2 separate regions of the Homo sapiens genome follow, and region 2 is linked to region 1. The links are contacts of gene promoters, found by promoter capture Hi-C in human tissues and cell types (Jung and others, 2019). All regions are on one chromosome and are shown on one strand. The core of a region is centred on a gene start or on the middle of the fragment in contact, and the rest is flanking DNA. Distances in the headings are between cores, read along the strand shown.

What was found. The method cuts DNA at HindIII sites, captures the fragments that hold promoters and counts their contacts. A contact is called where the count stands out against the background at its distance.
Region 2: a fragment that was not itself captured here is called in contact with the fragment with the promoter of PLCH1 in region 1 in 1 of the 25 tissues and cell types used here (H1 embryonic stem cells).

Annotation. Positions count from the first base shown.
Region 1 is chr3:155,743,513-155,749,351 of GRCh38, forward strand. It overlaps PLCH1 (phospholipase C eta 1), which reads right to left and starts at 1,559. Exons shown (of 23, transcript NM_014996.4): 1 at 1,328-1,559. RefSeq lists enhancers at 796-1,417, 1,312-1,521. The HindIII fragment of the contact is 7,162 bases long and covers 1-2,817 here.
Region 2 is chr3:155,398,727-155,404,134 of GRCh38, forward strand. It overlaps the pseudogene DTWD1P2. Among named protein-coding and RNA genes, the nearest start is that of PLCH1-AS1, 48 kb to the right of the region's middle. The HindIII fragment of the contact is 4,496 bases long and covers 1,012-5,408 here.

The DNA of each region.
Region 1 (5,839 bases), core at 309-2,808:
CAGAGCCAGACTCCGTCTCAAAAAAGAAAAAAAGAAAAAGAAAATGACCAGCTTGAGAAAACTGGCTTCTGTTAAGGCTTCTTGAAGCATTCTCTGCAGAAGACTTTAACCCCAAAGGTGACCAAAACGCTGAGGCAACTGAAAAAAACTACCGCCTCTTCTGGGAAATCCTTTGTTTCTTTTCATTGGCATTATACTCTGGTCCCTTTTGCAGAGCATCTCCTTGTCATAAACATGCCAATAAACAGGACATGGGTGCTGCTGGGTTGTACAAGCTCTGCTCTTCACCTGGGTTAGGAGGCACAGATTTGTTCTTGTAACGCTCGAGAACAATCACTTCACTGAATTTTCTAACTCCTTACCAGGAAGTAAATGTTTTATTCGTCTCCCCTTTTCGGGACAGAGGGGGATTTCAATTGCTGCCCTAATAACTAATCTCTCACCATTTTCTTCTGTCCGTGATCAAAACGGTAACAAGGGAAGGGAAAAGTTGGGTTTTTTTTTTTAATTTAGTTGGTTATTGCTTTAATGCTGAACTCTCAACGTCAAAATGTGATCACAAATTGATTCGCAGAAGGAAACAAATAGAAAAAGCCTCGGGAAGGAGGGGAGAGGGCGTCGCAGACGCTCAACAGGGAACTGGGTTTAGGGGCTCGCGGGGTGGCGTCTCGGACCCGCAGCTCAGTCGCCAAGGAAACGCCGCGCAGGCGCAGAGCGTGCCGCCGCGGGGCCGGGGTTTGCCTCCACCACCCCGCGCCGCTCGGGCGCTCTTGGTTCTTCCCAGGAAAGGGCAATGGAGTATATCCTCCTCGCGCTGAGCACACCTAGTCTCTAAGAGGTCCTGAGCAGGGTCACCGGGCGCAGGAAAAGCTGTGAGACTCCCCAAGTGTAACGGACGCTGCACTCCCCTTGCTGGGAAACGCGGACCTGCTCTCCTGGCGGCGTCTGGCGGTCAGAGAGAGGGTCCCGGGACCCCGCGTGAGGGTGAAGCATCCTGCAGCGAGGCTGGACCTTCCACCGGGCGAAACGCCACCCACCACCACCGCAAGGGACCCGAGAGTTACATTATTTCGCGGACACACACACCCACCCTCATCCTTCTGAATTATGGGACCCTGAAGAGCGGCCGTGGCCAGTTCCCCGCACGGGGCCTTAGGGGATCCCCACGCACAGCACTCACAGTCCTAAACAGGCGTGTGCCGGCTGTGGCTGCCGAGAAAGGAACTTGGGCCACCTGCTCACTCGCTCATCGGACTGGCGTACCAGTTCTCTTTTTCCTGCACACCCCCTTCTCTCCTGGGCCCCTTCTTCCCCCGAAAGCACTGACCTCCTCAGCTTTGAGTGTTCAGTAGCTGAAGGACTCCTCGGAGTCCGTGGCACAAGGAGCCACCTCCGAAGTGCTGGGGTGATGAGTTATTGGCCCCTGTGACTCCAACTCCAAACCCCTGCCAAGGGCCAGAAAAGCCCCCCTAGAAGAGCACTTCTCCCCACTAGCCAGCAGAAGCCCCAGACGAGCGGGGAAGAGCAGGGCGCCGCCGCCACAACCTGCTTTCTCATTCAAATCCTCACGCTCACACAGGAGCCCCCCTCCCTCTCGGCCCCGCAGCTTCCGAGGAAATCAGGAACTGGAGTTGCGGAGAGCGGACTGGAGCGCCTGCTGCCTCCTCTGGCCCGGGCGGGATGGGTGTACGGAACCCTAGGGCTGCACGTGGAACCCCAAGGCTGCACCTGGAACCCTTGGCTTACACTCTCCTGCGGGGCTCCCCGCTTGGCAAGGGCCAGAAGCACTGGGAATGAAGTACTTTTACTCCCCCGCAAGTTTCAAAAGTTTCGAAACCCAGGGTAACCCCTCGGGGCTGTAGCCAGAGGGCCTCGGTGGTGGGGGGTAAAGGAGTTGGAGAAACAAAGTTGGAAGTGAAGGGCGCAGGGAATGGGAACTGCGTGCAACTTGCACCAAAGTGAAAAGTGTTCTCAAACGTCCGTCTTACCTCCTTTAAAAAAAAAAAATTTCTAAGAATATAGCATCTGTCGATGCCGCAAATTAAAGAGATCTACTCTGAGTGAATGGGAACTGCGTGCAACTTGCACCAAAGTAAAAAGTGTTCTCAAACGCCCGTCTTACCTCCTTTAAAAAAAAAAAATTTCTAAGAATATAGCATCTGTCGATGCCGCAAATTAAAGAGATCTACTCTGAGTGAAGTGCAACTAAAATTGAGAGCGTGTAAATGGTAACACTTTGCTTTTATTTACCCCCAGTCTCTTCATTTGGAAATGCTACTCCTTGGCATTAACAGGCCACTTATTCACTTAGATCCGTTTAGTGGCTGGTTGACTCAAGCGGGCAACCTGCCGGGAGTAAGAAGGCGGCGGTGGCAGAGGAAAGCTTGCACGAAGCAGGCACTCAAGTGTTGATGAAACGATGAAATCTACTGAATGCACTGAAAGGATGAGTGACCAGCTTGGGGCGGATGCTGGAACCGCCGCTGGCCTAGACGGCCGCGGTGTGATCCGGCTTCTGGATTCCAGGATTTACATTTATCAGCCTTCATTCAACCTGCCCTATTGTTAGTTCAAAGCCTGGCTGGGAAGGAGTGGGGACGCAGCTCTTCACTCACCTTTCAGTTTAAAATAATCCTCCAATAAGAATGTCCTAGGAAAGCTGGCAGCATGGGGTTGGCAGGGATTTTCTGGGCTTAGTGACAACATAAACTAAAGTCATTTTCTTTTTTCATGCGTGAATTTGCCCAGGAAGTTACAAACGAGTAAGTTACAAATGAGTGCCTGAGATTGGAGCTCAGGGCCTTGGCTGCCTGTTCTCTTTGACAGACAGTGTGGAGGGTGGTAGCACTGTGACCTCTCAGCGCAAGATCTAGGGTTTCACCTTTTCATCCCACTTAGCCGATACCATAGAAACAACCCATTTGTATTATTCAATTCAACAGAGGCAATTACAATGTCACAGCAAAGCACCATGGGCAAGAAGAAACTTTGTCCTGAAAACAATCCTAGACTCTCAGAAAAAAGAAAAAAGCCACCAGAATACCCACTTGAATTTCTTCCTGCCAATAGTACCAGGAAGAAATCAATTTGGAAAAAATGTAGGTAAGGTCCTTTGCCTCTATAGAAAGAAACCTCCCCAAATTTACTTGTTTTTGTTTTTGTTTTTTTGCATGCCCATACACAAGCCTCAATTTATAAGAAATTAAGTCATTAACCCTCTGCCTCCAAACTGCTTTATATTTTGTAAACAAGCTTGTTGGAGATTTGTTTTGCTGGTAACCTCCATGGTGAATAGAAAAGCCAAAAAAAAAAAAAAAAAAAAAAAAACCACCAAGATAATCCCTCAACAGCAGCAGTTCACCCCCTAACCTCCGGTGTTTGTCTTTCTTGAGTCTGAAAAAATGCAGATGCACATGTTGAAATAAACTCAGACACAAAGTTCATAATAAGAGCACTTGTTTGCTATGCATTCTTTATTTTGATAGTTTTAATCAACTCCCATAATTTTGTAAACTTTTAAATTTTTAAATTGTGTGATATTTCAAACCTACCAAAAACAGGATATATACCATGTAATACTCCTGCTCCCCCCAGCCCTTCTTTTTTAAATAAAGCATTACAGATATAGCTAAACCCCAACTCCTGACTCGTTACCCCCACCCCTTCCCAAAGGTAATAATTCTGAAGTTGGTATGAATCATAATTATGCATGTTCTTAAATGTTTAGGACATTTATACATCCATAATCTTTTAATGTAGCTTTTCTCTCCAAGTCGTTTTAACATTATTTATCTGAGAAAAATCACTAAAACAATTAATTAATTAATTGGAGAAAATCACTAAAAACAAGAAAATGTGTTACATTGCTAAGTTTTTAGAAGCAGGACAGAACTATTTTTCCTGCTTGTGACAATCAGAGTATGGAATAATAACAAAGGGATTAGACAGTGGGTAATAAGCAGCCTCTCTAGGTTACACAAACTCTTCCATGGTTACCAAAGAATAAATAGAAAAACAAAACAAATAATACCCTCCTCTTTCACTGGTTAAAGGGGAACTGGAGAAAATGAGATCTTCATTAAAACTTCTTTGGGCAGGTAAGACAAACATCCTACATGGTAGTAAAGTACCTTTTCTAGAGGATCTCTTGGTCATGCAAGCTATGATCTTTTAGTAAGGATTTACCACTTTTCCAAGTATAAAGAACTCCTGCTGGTAGCTCAATACAAGGTTGAAATCCGCCTGGCTGAAAAGTCTGGGGTTGAATTAGCCCTGCCTCTTCAAGCACAGGGACATCCATCTGTACAGTAGTTACAAAAATCTTTTGCTGTGATTCTTTGACTTAATGTCCTCCCAGCATTAAAAGTGCTAAGAAAGCATCAATTTTTCTTAAATGCCATTGAATGGTGAAAGGCATCCTTCCCAACCCCCACCCTCTTCATTTCCTAAGCGATGACTCTCATTAATTATACTGGCACACCACTGCCCAGCCTCCCTTCTAAATAGCTGCCAGATTTCTACATATCATCTCTGCCTTGATACAGAATGTGCACTGACACCAGGATCACAGAAAATCCTGTAAGAGGTGCCTGATACACAGTAAAATGATTGATGTGCCTTGTGGTGAGCCTGCTGTGCTGCGTATCGTAGGGGGTTTCTTAGAAAACTGCACTGGGAATTTCTGTGTTGGAAAAAGATTTTTCTAGCTGTGCAAAAATTGTGCTTCCAGTTGCAAAAAGAGCCATTTATTTAAGGTGTTCAAATTTAAACAGCAACCATCTTGAGTTATATCCACGAGCAAGAGAGGAAAGGAGATAAATGTTCCCTATTTTAATCAATGCACCAAGTTAAGAAAACCATTGACCAAAAAAGCGTATCAAGGAAGAGGCACTCCTCTTTCAACACATATTTCTTTAGTACTTGCCATGTACCAGGCACTGCTCTAGGTGGTAAGCCTTAGCTGGAATATAGATAGCACTCCTGAAGTAGAGCGTAGTACCTGTCTTTATGGCCCTACTCTACAAATTGGTCACGGCTTTTAGGTACAAATAACAAAACCCCTTATCAAACCAGCTTGAGTAAAAAAAGCTGATGTATTGACTCCCACTTTAAGATAGGGGGAAGGATAAGGACTTCAGAAACGGTGGGAGTCTAGCAATTCAGAATCAGCATTTCTCTTGTTAAAGAAAAAATTAGTCAGTGTTAAAGCATGGTAAGGAAGGCTTTATCCAGCACGATCGAAATCGGCACAGGGACTACTGCAAGGAGCTCATGCAGAATACAGCATAGGCAGCTTGGAATTTATAGACAAAGAACAGATGGGGTTGCTGGATGAAAAATCACTAAGAGGAAACATCAGGAATATGAGGAACTCTAGCTAACCCGACATAACTGGATTCTTGCTGAACACAGGCCAGGGAGATCAGACATGACCTGGGCAATAGTGGAGGATGAGGGATCTGATCAGATATTGAGAATGATCAGATATGGAGAGTGGGGGTTCTTGCTAAACTGACTTGGCAGAACTCTTTTCTAAAACTGAGTTTTACAAGAAAACGCACATATGGGCCCAGGAGAAGGCTCAGAAGCATGACTAATGTTTGTTTGGCCAAGCAAGGAATTTTTGTCACTCTCACACTTTCACCTTTGCTCCTACTATTTCCCTGTCTCTGCTTTTCTCAGTGTTTTGATCCTATTCTCTCCTATTCCATATGAGCTTTCTGTACAAGCTGGGGGTGGGGAGAGCATGACTAGAGACAGCTCCAGGTTTCAATCGTCTCAGCTAGAGAGGCCTTTTTGCTTTTACCATCTGTAAATAAGATGGTAGGAAAGGATTCGA
Region 2 (5,408 bases), core at 2,010-4,509, 340 kb before region 1:
TTTTTTTTTTTTTTTTTCTGAGATGGAGTTTCACTTTGTTGTCCAGGCTGGAGTGCAGTGGCACAATCTCAGCTCCCTGCAACCTCTGCCTCCTGGATTCAAGTGATTCTCCCACCTCAGCCTCCCAAGTAGCTGGGATTACAGGCACCTATTCCCAGCTAATTTCTATATTTTTAGTAGAGATGGGGTTTTACCATGTTGGCCAGGCTGGTATCCAACTCCTGATCACAGGTGATCGATCCATCCACCTTGGCCTCCCAAAGTGCTGGGATTACAGACATGAGCCACAGCACCCGGCCTAGTTCTAAATTTGTAATGGTTTTTTTTTCCTTATATGTTATTTATCTGCTACCACAACAATCTAAGTAATAAACACACAAAAAATCTCAGTGCCATACAAAAATAAACATTCAGTTTTGCTCACAAGTCTATGAAGTTAGCTGAGCAGATCTACTGATCTGACCTGGGATGGGTAAGGCACACTCATTCATCTGAGATTAGCTACAGGTCAGCTAGAAGTCTTCCAATATCTTGACTGCCTCCTTTACATGTTTGGAGCCTACCTGGGACAACTGGGCTGACTCAGCTCTGCCTGACATGATCTATAGTCTTCCAATACACTACAGTGGACTTGTTTTTGTGGTGGTAGAGAGGGTGCAGAGGTATTCAGGCCCCCTGAAGCTTTGGCTTAGAACTGGCATACCATCACTTTTTGCCACATTCTAATGGTCAAAGCAAGTCACAAAGCCAACCCAGATTCAAAGGGTGAGAAAGTAGACCCTACTTCTTGATTAGAGGAACTGCAAAGTCACATTGCAAAAGCCACAGACACAGAGAGGGGTGGGAAGTCAGGGTTACCCTTACAATCACTCCATTGTTTCAGTTATCTACTGCTTTGTAACAAAGCACCCCAAAATATAGCAGCCTAGGATAAAACCTTATTATTATCTCTTATGATTCTACATTATGGCCAGATTTAGATAAGCAGTTCTCACTTGGGTCTTTAATTCAGTTGCAGCCAGATGATGGCTGGGGCTGAAGTCATCAGAAGGCTCAATGCAACAGAGCATCCACGACAGTTCCCTTAGCCACATGTCTGGTGGCCTCAGCTGAGATGACTGAAATATCTGGGGACTGGCTTCCACGTGGCCTGTCCACGTTGCTAGTTTGGACAGTTTCAGCATAACAGTCTCAGGATATTCAAAATTCTTACATGGCTGCTTGTTTTCACCACAGTAAGCATTCCAAGATCCCAGCCCCAAAAGTCACACAGTGTCTCTTCTGCCACACTCTACTGCTTACACAGGGCCAGCACTGATTCAATAGAAAAGACTGCATGAAGCTTTGGACACTGGAAGGTATTCGTGGGCATCATACATAGGTATGTGTGTAATATCATGTGTGTGTGATACCATCTTCAGCTTAGGTTCTGAATTTGTAGTTAATTTTTATTCTTTCCGATATAAATAAATATATGTGTACATGATGCTGTTTTGTAGACAATATATTTTACTTATTTCCTATATCTACTGAAGTATTGAGTTTACTTTCCTTCTTGTCAGACTATGTATTTCTTTAAACAGTTCTCAAAGTGGATGTTTTTGAGGCTTTGCATGACTAAGAATATCGTTATTTCTTACTCACATTTAATTTTTTGAAGTTCCCTTTCTTCAATACTTTGCATCCAGTGTTGCTATTGAAACACTTCTCTAAGTGATTATACTAAGTTTTCCTTATTATATACTTTATCCACTCCCTTCTAATGCACACCCTCAAGTGATGTCACCCCTCAAGGAACCTATATTTCCTGCGCAGGCTCTCTTCTTTTCCAACAGCTGCCTCAGTGATAACCCAGTTCTTGAAGTGGACAATGGAGAAAGGAGGCAGCATCCAGGCTCCAGCTCAAGGCTGCACCTGCTTTTATCCACCCCTACTCATGCCCAGACCACAAGCTTCATAGTATCCTGCAGTCTCCAGTTAAGAGCTGGCCCTGCCACTGTCCTCGTCACAGTGGCTGTGGGAAAGGCAATGTCTCACTCAGGGAAAGATGGGGCACAACAAGAACACCTCCCAGGCTGCTTCCATTCCAAGCTACCTTCAGTATCAACCTCCATCATTTACCCTCTCCCCACATCTATCATTTACCTTCTCCCCACAACCATCACCTCCACCTCCTCAGGCTGTTCTCACAATGTCGGTTCTGATATATGACATCACTCCTCTTGGCTCCAGGTCATCCTCAGAGCAGAGATCATGTTATTTTGCCATCTGATCAGAAACTACATGTCCCATGACCCAGAGTCTTCAATTCATTTTAAGATAACACAATATCGTATTAAAATGTAGGGTTGAAATTAGAACATGCCAAACTTAAGAACATATTTGAAATGAGTTTTGTTTTCAGTAAACTCTAAAAATTTTCATTAGATGTTTTACTTTATATAATTACCTAGTTTTAAAAACTGAAGTAAAATGAATAAAGCAGCATTTGTTATACATGATAATTTTCTAAGATTGTTTAATCAATAAAGAATAAAAAAGTACCATTACAAATGTATTGATCTTGGTAAAACAGAAGAACACAAATGTCTTGTTATAAACTGTTGGATGCATTCCCTTGTTTCCCTTGTTCCAGAACATTTGGCATTCTTTGTCAACTAGTACATAAAAGAATAGAAAAGCAAATGTCTCTCATATTTCCTTTACACTACTATATTAATAAATCAGAAAGATAGTCCACTAGAAAGAATAAATGGCTTCAATTATAAGCCATATATAAGTAATGGATCTGGCCATGCATGAGAAAACAGTTTTTCCTTTTATACTCACGCCATTCTCAATATCTCACTTCTGACACCAGATCTATGGTGTTTTTCCCACTTGATCTATTATCCAACACCAGCTGGGTGTTTAACAATTCAATTCCCATTCTGACACTATCTCAAGTTAGTGCAGAACTCACAGGTTAAGGACCTCCCACAAGACTCTACCCCTACTGCAGATGCCAATGATAAGTAGTAGGTTTCCTGATTACCCACAACTCCTGTACAACTTGGCTACAAACTGGAAGTTCTGAGACCTCCTTGGGCTCGATAGTTTGCTAGAGCAACTCACAGAACACAGAGAAACACTTGTGTTTCCTGGCTTATTATATAATAATGGATATGATAAAGAATACAGATAAACAGCCAGATGAAGGTTCTTGGGGCAAGGTCTGCAGGGTCCCAAGCACAGCAGCTTCTATTGCCATGGAGTAGGGGTATGCCACCTTCTGGCATATGGATGTGTTCACCACCCTAAGAATTCCTCAAACCCTGTCATTTGGGGATTTTGAAGGGGCTTCATCATGTAGACATGATCAATTATTAACTAAATCTTCAACTCCTCTTACCTCTTCAGAGTAGGGGGTTGGGGTTGAAAGTTCCAGGCTTCTAATTATGGCTTGGTCTTTCTGGTGACTAGTCCCCATGCAGGAGCCCACCAAAAGTGGCTCTCATCACCCTGAAAATTCCAAGGTATTTAGGAGCTCCGTATCACGAATTGGGTAAAAGGCAAAAAAATGAGAACAAAAGATGCACCTAGCATCCCTATCACTCAGGAAATAACCAATGTTTAGGAGCTCTGGCCAGGAGCGGAGAACAAGACCAATATACACATATGTCTTATTACATCAAAAAATCACAGGCTAAAAGCAAAGTTTTCTTGTTTTGTTCAACCTATGTCAATCTTTGAAGTCACTCACAGTTGAACATTTTAATTTTCTTGTTTCAAGTGCTATCTATAAATTTTATTATTTTCAATATTGAATATTTCTATTTGTTAAATTCACTCAAATCACAGCCCTCTTGCTGTTCAGGGTTTTTTTGTTTTGTTATTGTTCTTTCTTTTCATGTAATAAATGATTTGTTAAGGTCATCATTTTTGCTTGTGACTTTATTTTGAAACCTTTTTTGCAGTTGAAAGTACATATTTTTGGCTGATATTGAATTGGGAGCACACAAACCAAGCACAACATTATGGTCTTTCTCTCCATATTCTTAAATATAAGAATGTATATAAATATTTATATCTTTGTGTTCTAAGAGTTTGGCATGTATAGCAGTACTTTTGCCATCTGTTTATTTTGGATGTTATTGACATGAATCTACAGTAAAAAATTCACCAATGGAATCTCTTCTATTAGTACATTTTTCAACTGAAATACCATACATATACTTGAAGAACATTCTTGAACTGCTACATTTGAAATACTTTCTTTCCACCTTACCTGAACTTTTAGAAAAATTTCTTTCTTTTTTTCTTTTTCTTTTCTTTTTTTTTTTTTTTTTTTTTTTTTTTTTGAGAGAGAGTCTCATTCTGTCGCCCAGTCTGGAGTGCAGTGGCGTGATCTCAGCTCACTGCAACCTCTGCCTCAGCCTCCCAAGCAGTTGGGATTACAGGCGCCCGCTACCAAGCCCGGCTAATTTTTTTGTATTTTTAGTAGAGACGGGGTTTCACCATGTGGGCCAGGCTGGCCTTGAACTCCTGACCTTAGGTAATCCACCCACCTCAGCCTCCCAAGATTACAGGTGTGAGCCACTGTGCCCAGCCTAAGAATTTCTTAAGCATGGGTTTTGAAGGAGACCTTCAAAAGCAATAGCGTAGTTCATGACTATTGCATTCCTTCAATTTTTTTTTTTTTTTTTTTTTTGAGACAGGGTCTCTCTCTGTTGCCCAGGCTGGAGTGCAGTGGTGCGATCTTGGTTCACTGCAACCTCTGCCTCCTGGGTTCAAGCAATTCTCCTACCTCAGTCTCCTGACTAGCTGGGACTACAGGCGCCCCACCATGCCCAGCTAATTTTTTGTGTTTTAAGCAGAGATGGCATTTTGTCATGTTGGCCAAGCTGGTCTTGAACTCCCAGCATCAAGTGATCCACCCACCTCAGCCTCCTAAAGTGCTAGGGTTAGAGGTGTAAGCCACCATGCCTGGCCTGTATTCCTTCGATTTTTGAATTATTTTCTTGTTTGATTTGAAAACTTTGGGTGGATTGAGAGATTCTTTTTTTGTTCAAACCAAAATACAACACTTATTTCTAAAACAAAGCAGCATTGGCACATTGAGGTTCGGAGGCTGATCCTTAGATGCAGTTACTGTAAGTCAAATAGCAATTTCATTATCAAATTCTGCAGAATTGATACTTTTTCTGGGGTAGGTCTGCCTTGGCACTGAAAATGCTAAAAACAATTGTAGACGTTGTTTTTGAAATTTTGTTTGTTTGTCTTATTTTGTTTTTAAGAAAAATCTGAAAGTCATTTTTCTCAAAGGGCCCCAAATGCCTCCTAAAAACACAATTCCTCTAGCAGAGGCCTGACTCTGCTGAATGATAACAGCCCTCTGCCCATTCATCATACAGACCTGAAATAAGGGG